Linked DNA regions of Homo sapiens: all the other regions are linked to region 1. The links are contacts of gene promoters, found by promoter capture Hi-C in blood cells and fetal thymus (Javierre and others, 2016). All regions are on one chromosome and are shown on one strand. Each heading gives the region's core, a stretch centred on a gene start or on the middle of the fragment in contact. The rest is flanking DNA. Distances are from core to core; before and after follow the strand shown.

What was found. Contacts are between HindIII fragments. The CHiCAGO score rates a contact against its expected background, and 5 or more counts as called.
Region 2: a fragment that was not itself captured here is called in contact with the fragment with the promoter of UTY in region 1 in 2 of 17 cell types (M1 macrophages and activated CD4 T cells); the score reaches 9.5 in M1 macrophages.
Region 3: a contact is called between a fragment that was not itself captured here and the fragment with the promoter of UTY in region 1, in 5 of 17 cell types (monocytes, naive B cells, total B cells and 2 more). The highest score is 11.6, in monocytes.

The regions. Positions count from the first base shown.
Region 1 is chrY:13,478,733-13,481,414 of GRCh38, reverse strand. UTY (ubiquitously transcribed tetratricopeptide repeat containing, Y-linked) reads left to right here and starts at 1,382. Exons shown (of 30, transcript NM_001258249.2): 1 at 1,382-1,901; 2 at 2,098-2,161. The coding sequence starts at 1,750. It overlaps MIR12120 (microRNA 12120), which reads right to left and starts at 2,238; the gene lies at 2,149-2,238. The HindIII fragment of the contact is 7,265 bases long and covers 1-2,682 here.
Region 2 is chrY:14,344,858-14,347,539 of GRCh38, reverse strand. No RefSeq gene overlaps it. Among named protein-coding and RNA genes, the nearest start is that of NLGN4Y, 180 kb to the left of the region's middle. The HindIII fragment of the contact is 6,886 bases long and covers 1-2,682 here.
Region 3 is chrY:12,918,718-12,921,399 of GRCh38, reverse strand. DDX3Y (DEAD-box helicase 3 Y-linked) reads right to left here. Exons shown (of 17, transcript NM_004660.5): 17 at 922-2,682. Among named protein-coding and RNA genes, the nearest start is that of DDX3Y, 15 kb to the right of the region's middle. The HindIII fragment of the contact is 2,187 bases long and covers 276-2,462 here.

The sequences.
Region 1 (2,682 bases), core at 133-2,632:
TTTTTTTTTTTTTTTTTTTTGAGACGGAGTTTTGCTCTTGTTGCCCAGGCTGGAATGCAATGGTGCCATCTCGGCTCACCGCAACCTCCGCCTCTTGGGTTCAAGCGATTCGCCTGCCTCAGTCTTCAGAGTAGCTGAGATTACAGGCATGCGCCACCATGCTCTGTTAATTTTGTATTTTTAGTAGAGACGGGGTTTTTCCATGTTGGTGACGCTGGTCTGAAACTCCCAACGTTAGGTCATCTGCCCGCCTCGGCCTCCCAAAGTGCTGGGATTACTGGCGTAAACCACAGCGCCCGACCTGTCTCTTATCTATTTCTAACATGGAAGCCCCCGCTTCGAGCTGTCCCTCTTACCTGACCGAACCAATCATGTTTCCCTAAAACGTACAAAAGCAAGCTGTGCCCTGACCACCTTGGGCAAATGTATCATGGGTAAGTCTTGCAAAATAAACTTTTTAAATTGACTAAGACCTCTCTCAGATATTTGGGGTTCAGAAATAAATTCTTTTACCTATTATTTATAATTTTGGTTACAATTGAGAAAGTAAGAAAAAAGTGGTGTTTTTTTCTTTTCTAAGGGTTACTGCATCTTGAAAGTGTGATGAAGGTCTTAATTATTGTTCTTATAATTCCTGTCCACAGAAGCTCCTACTCTTACTGAGACCTCACGGAATTATCATTATCACAATAGAAATAAACATTTTGGGTTTGTGGAGTAACTTTTTTTTTTTTTTTTTTTTTTGCTCATCGTTTGTTGTTTAGATAATATCATGAACTGATAAATGCAGTTGCCACGTTGATTCCCTAGGGCCTGGCTTACCGACTGAGGTCATAAGATATTATGCCTTCTCTTTAGACTTGGTCAGTGGAGAGGAAATGGGCAAAGAACCAGCCTATGGAGGTGACAAGGCCTTAGGGCCAAAAGTCTTGAGGGTGAAGGTTTAGGGCCTGCGCAGCTTCCCTGCCATGCCCCGCAAGGTCTCGCATTCGCAAGGCTTGTGACAGTGGGAGCCTCATTACGGACTCTCCTAAAGTCCATGGTGTCCTCTTTTCGCATTTGCGCCCCGTGGGTGATGCCCGATGCCGCCCTTCCCATCGCTCTCTTCCCCTTCAAGCGTATCGCAACTGCAAAAACACCCAGCACAGACACTCCATTTTCTATCTTAATGCATTTAACTAGCACAACCTACAGGTTGTTCCATCCCAGAGACTACCCTTTTCTCCATAGACGTGACCATCAACCAACCAGCGGTCAGAATCAGTCAGCCTCTGTCATGTTCCTAGGTCCTTGGCGAACTGGCTGGGCGGGGTCCCAGCAGCCTAGGAGTACAGTGGAGCAATGCCTGACGTAAGTCAACAAAGATCACGTGAGACGAATCAGTCGCCTAGATTGGCTACAACTAAGTGGTTGGGAGCGGGGAGGTCGCGGCGGCTGCGTGGGGTTCGCCCGTGACACAATTACAACTTTGTGCTGGTGCTGGCAAAGTTTGTGATTTTAAGAAATTCTGCTGTGCTCTCCAGCACTGCGAGCTTCTGCCTTCCCTGTAGTTTCCCAGATGTGATCCAGGTAGCCGAGTTCCGCTGCCCGTGCTTCGGTAGCTTAAGTCTTTGCCTCAGCTTTTTTCCTTGCAGCCGCTGAGGAGGCGATAAAATTGGCGTCACAGTCTCAAGCAGCGATTGAAGGCGTCTTTTCAACTACTCGATTAAGGTTGGGTATCGTCGTGGGACTTGGAAATTTGTTGTTTCCATGAAATCCTGCGCAGTGTCGCTCACTACCGCCGCTGTTGCCTTCGGTGATGAGGCAAAGAAAATGGCGGAAGGAAAAGCGAGCCGCGAGAGTGAAGAGGAGTCTGTTAGCCTGACAGTCGAGGAAAGGGAGGCGCTTGGTGGCATGGACAGGTACGCACCTCCATCACCCGCCTGGTTGGCTGGCGATACTCTCCGGGAAGGCCTGGACGCAGCTTGCCCACGTTGATGACGGGGTCATCCTCAGCTTGGCACTCACCAATCTGTCGCTGTCGCTCTTGGACTCGGGAAGGAGCAAGTCACTGGCTTTCTCAGACCATTAACAAGCTCTGTGTCTCTCTCTCTACAGCCGTCTCTTCGGGTTCGTGAGGCTTCATGAAGATGGCGCCAGAACGAAGACCCTACTAGGCAAGGTAAAAGCAACCAGACGCAAAGTCTTTGGTCCGCACTTTGCTCTACCAAGGCCCCGCGTTCCTTACCGCCCAGCCAGTATTTATTTTGGCTCTGCTCCATGGCCAAGGGGTCGGAAAAGTGTTTCTTGCCTTTGCTGTCCCCGTACTCTGGAATACTTCGCCCCTTGCTCCAGACTCCCTTCTACTCTGAGGAAAAAAAAAATCGGACGCTTTGGGACCGGGCTAAACCGGGTCTACACCACATGCCTGTTACTTTAGGGCCTTTTGTTCCTGAATTTTAGCGTCACAAATAGTGAATGTGTACAGTTTTCAAAATTCATAACTTCCTGCTTCTTCCCCTCGCCTTTTGGTATTTGGCTCTTGGTGTCTAATTTTAAACATTTTTTTGCCTTTTTAAAAAAAATATCCCTGGTGTCCTAAGTGTAAGTAGCAAGTAAGTTACAGCGGTGAAGAGTTTGCAGTAGATATTTGACCTATAAACTGATGCGTGTATGTTTAGCCTGAAGTTTAGTGATTTGTTG
Region 2 (2,682 bases), core at 99-2,598, 870 kb before region 1:
AAGTAATATTAATAGCTCAATTTTTTTTAATAAGAAAGCTGATGCTAATAGAATTTAAGCGCCTTCTCCAAACATCTAAAACTGATAAGTGATTGTGCTAGGATTTCACCGTGGGGCTCCTTGGCTCCCAAGTTAAGCACGTCATGTTGTCATTTAATTTGACAACCAATGTCTATTATATCACTTTATCTCTTTGGTGACAATGGAAGTTCCATGAACACAGGGCCCCTATGGGTCTTGATTATTCAACAAAATTTTTTGTACTATTAGGGGTCTTTGAACAATTTTTGAGATAATTCTCTGCTTTTGTTGACTTCCTCCGTGATGTGTCAGGAAGTACTAATACAAGCATGCCTCAAAGAGTGAGAACACATGAACCTACCTTTCCCCTTCGGGACACAGCATTTGATAAATGCTATGAAACTCAATTCAACTCAGTCCCACCTATGTTAACAATACATGTGTATTGTATCAATAAATTATAACTTAAGTTTATCAATTTAACACAAACCTGGGTTGATTGTCTGCCTTCACGCCATGGCATATATTCTTTATCCTACTGGGATGACTTTCACATCCAGTCAGCCTTTTATATTTCCAGTTCCACATCAGCAATTTCAACCATCCTCAGATCAGAAATACTTTTTAAAAATTAAAAATAAAAATACAACAATAAAAACTTAACCAAAACCCAATACAGTATAACAACTATGCTTAGCATTTACACTGTATGAGGGATTATTAAAAATAAAAATAAAAACAGAAACAAAAAACTAGAGATGATTTAAAGTACAGTCGTCTCTTGGTACCAGTAGGAGATTGGTCCTAGGACCTCCAGAGTATTCCAAAATCCATGCATGTTCAACGTCTTGATATGAAATTGTGTCGTATCTGTATATAACCTCTGCACACCCTCCCATATATATTAAATCCTCTCTAGATTACAATAATGTATTGTTTAACAACAGGGCTATGTTCTGAGTGTTGATAAAAAGAGACAAACTCAGTAAAATGTTTGAAGAGATTTATTCTGAGCCAAATATAAGTCACCATGACCCATGATAAAGCCCTAAGTAGGTCCTGAGAACATGTGCCTAAGGTGATGGGGGTATGACTTGGTTTTACACATTTTAGGGAGGCATGAAACCACAATCAAATATATTTAAGAAATATATTGGTTTAGTCCAGATAGTCAGTACAACTCAAGCAAGGTCAGGGTGGGGTGGGAGGGGATGGGGCTTCCAGGCTATAGGTAAATTTAAGTATTTTCTGGTTGAGAATTCGTTGAGTTTGTCTAAAGACCTGGGATATTCAGGTTAAAATAAATGATTGTGGAGACCAAGGTTCTCTTGAAATCTTATTGTGGCAGCTCTTAGAAAAAATAGATGACAAATATTTTCTGTTCAGATTTCTAAAGCATGCTAGACTTTAAGTTAATCTTTTTAAGATAGGGAACATCTGGAAGATAAAGACCTAGCTATGTTAATAGAGATTCTTTACAGATGCAAATTTTCCCCCACTTAGGACAGATTTGCAGGGTAATTTCAAGAATTGACAAAGAAACATGTTTTGGGGTAAAATATTTTCACTTTCTTCTTTGTCACATAATGTTTTGCCAGAGTCATATTGGAAAGTACATCATGATATGTAGGGTTAAATAAAATGCATTTGATGAGAAGTTACAAGTTTGTAGGGCATGACTACCCAGACCCCTTTGATGAGAATTTGGGAAAGAAAATATTAGAGCTTAGTCCTTATGAGAATGTGCTATTAAATGATTTTTTTTGTTGTGTGAATATTAGTGAGTGTACTTACACAAACCTAGATGATATAGCCTGTTATATACACCTAGGCTATACATCATAGCCTCCCACTCCTGGGCTGCAAACATGAACAGCATGCTACTGCACTTACTACTGTAATCAATTGCAACACGATGGTAAATGTTGTGTATCTGAACATAGCTAGACATAGAAAAGGTACAGTAAAAATATGGCATTGTAATCTTATGAGACCACCAGCATATATGTGATCTGTTATTGACCAAAACATTGTTAGGTGGTACATAATTGTACTCATAATACCTAATACAATGTAAACACTGTGTAGTAGTTAAGTACATAGTTATGTACATAGTTACAAAAAAGGTGTTTATTGTTCATTATAGATGCTCTTGATTTCTCCAAATATCTGGATCCAATATTGGTTGAATCCACAGATGTAGAACATGGGGCTAACTGTATATAAGAGGATGTATGTAGGTTAAATGCAAATACTACTGACGGACTAAGTGGCTAAGTTGGCTGGACTTCCTGGGTCTATAGGGACTTCCCCAAGGGGCTTTTCCCTAAGCCAAAATGACTCATAGCTGCAAGCTAAGGGATTGAAACTTCAACTAATCAAAGGGGACTTTCTCCTAAGCCGAAATGAGTCACAGCTGCAAACTAAGGGATTGAAACATCAACCAATCATATTAGTAATTTAAGCTCTAGCTGCAGCCTGATGTTTTTAATCAATCAGGCCTGCCAACCCACAGATAGAAAATAAGCTAATCCTATAGGACAGAAAAAGGAAAAGGTGGGGAAGTCATAAGGGGATATAAGCATAAGACACCCAAGCCAGAAATGACAACCCTTCTGGGTCCCCTTCCACCGCGTGGAAGTTTTACTTTCACTTTGGCTT
Region 3 (2,682 bases), core at 120-2,619, 560 kb after region 1:
CAAAACGGCATAAATACTTCTGAAAACCAGTAGTACCTACTGAAAACAGGTAAGACATGAAGGAGCATTGGCGTTTACCATAATCATATTAAAATAGTTTGTTGCTGCTACAAACTAGAAATTAGGTGCTATTTACACAACAGAATTCCACACAGCTATCAGAATGTTAAAAATCTAAGGAACATTGTAATTCCATCTCACGAACGTTAACACTTAGTGCAAAAAATGAGTTAAAAAAAACTGTTCATTTTCACCAAGTTTATTAGACTAAAGCTTATGTGTGCTGTTAAAAGAACAGTGCTTATCCTTTGCAGTTTGAGGTTGGTTGCCAAAAGGGGACACAAAGGGACACTGAGGTTCTTGATTTCCTTAAAAAAAACTATTTCAAACATTAACACGTTAGACCAGTTTGCCTATCGTGTTTGTTAAGCGGCACTAACTGCTGCAATGTGTTAAAGGGATTGTCAGCCACCAGAAAAAAGAAGTTGGACAAAACGTGCTTATGCGATTCTCAGCTATCATTAACCTACTCCAATTAATTCTTGACCTTAAGTAACTACTTACAATCAAAAAGTAATTTGTTAGGCAACTGACTTTTTACCCAATTCATTTAGTTCAGCCATCTTTCACATCAAAAATGCTTAAAATAGCAATCACACTCATATTAAGTTGCTTAGACCAAAATGCAATATATGCTGCATGTATAGACCTTTTAGATTCACATCAGTCAGAACACAAATCCTGCCTCACAACTCCAACCTTCTACCACCTTCGTCATTAAGGCAAAGAAGTACTTCTAGCCTCAGGACGGTATTTCACAAACAGCTTTGGTAGGTAGCCAAGAAATCAGATTTCCAATCTTCAGGTTAAGAGCACAAGTTCATCTTCAACTCAACATTAAGCTACAAGTGACAGCAGGAAGACTTTTGAACTTTTTATTTTAGTAAAATCAGAATAAACAGAGCACATGCAGTGCCAGCATCTAAAACTAATACAATAAGCAATTACTGAACTTTTACAGTGACTCGAGGTTCAATGATTACATTCAGCAATTCCATTCTTTATTTACTGAAGAATACTGCTGGCTGATAAAACCGAATGTTAAGTCACTGACAGAAATAACCATGTTTGAGGACTGTAAATATACCAGACAATCACTGAAAATCAAACACAACAAAACACATAACAAAACTCAAGAGAAACTTTGTGGATGTGGACACTTCCTATCAGTGTTCAGAAGTGTTTCATTAATATCTTAAGACAAGTATATCAAAACCTTGGCATGTTTTAGTTTCAAGTTGACAATTTTGTCTTAAATTTTGTCAGAAAATTACAGCTACATTGCCAATGCCGGGTCTGCTTAATTTGACTCAAGTTTAACAGACTTAACATTAAAAGCTCACACTACCCCAAAATATATTATTTCACATACGGTGACATTCAACATTCAAGTGCCAGTGTTTTTTGTACTGTCTTTTGGTCAAGTTTCTTTAAACTTTCAAAGAATCATTTTTAGGCTTACAAAAATAAATATTTGTCAAAATGTTCAATAAATATTACACAACTAGCAGCAAAAAGTATCTAAAATCTGTTGTGTGCAAATAGTTTTCTTCTCAACTACCATTCCATGGTCCCCAATAAAATTTAGGAATCTACTTCTTCACTGGCTGCATTCAACAATCTCCAAGAGACGAAATAAGATTGGAAGGTCGAGGACACCCACACAAGACATATATATATAAAATTCTCTGAATGTGCAACAAAATACTTTGTAAAAAGTTATGGGAGAAATGTACAAGAGTCTAAACCTACACTAATTGAAATAGCACCTTAACAAATGACCTCAATACTGTCAAGTGCACCTACTTAAAAGTTTTAGAACAAGGCACAATACACTTGAAAATCTATTGCACTTTAAGAAATTTTTGTCAACTTCTTATGCCATTGAAAAGATTTGTTTTTAAAGATCATTGCATCTGGCCACAAAATCAGTACAGAATTCCAAGTGGGAGAGGCATTTTTAGTGGTGGACAATCATCTTTGGCCAAATTTAGCACAAGAGACTATAAATACCATGGAAACCTATGCAACTAAAATACGCTAAAACTGCACATATAGAACACACACCTTGTGCAGTTTAGTACGTATTTGCAAGCTGTGTGATTTCAAGGATTTGTTAGTCTTAAGATTTGCAAAGTCTGCAAGTGTAAGCCATTTTAACATTTCAATGCAGCTTTAACAGAGCAGTATGAATCTACATTAAATTAAAGCCTGCTGCACAATCCTTCCTGTTTAAACCGTTCTTGACCAAAAAACATCAACACTAGCATGCATTAAAGACCAGAATCCAACCAGGCCTGTAGTGAGGCCTGGTCACTGCCATGGTCGGCCATTCTAATATTTCAAATTTTTATAGCAGGCATTAAAAAAACTGATTAAATCTCCCCCATTTTATCAAAGCTTTAAACCTTTCTTGTGATAGCATGCCGTTTGCCTAGGTTAGAATAAACTCCCTAAACATTACATGAGAAATTGCTGTACTTAAATTAACCTAAAAGAGCTCTTTCAAAAATATTAATTGGTATACTGATACATTCCACCTCATCATGACTGGAATGGCTTAAAGAGTGTAAGTTCCCAAGTGCCTATCCAGGATAGAGTGAGCAAGTCAGAACTTAATTT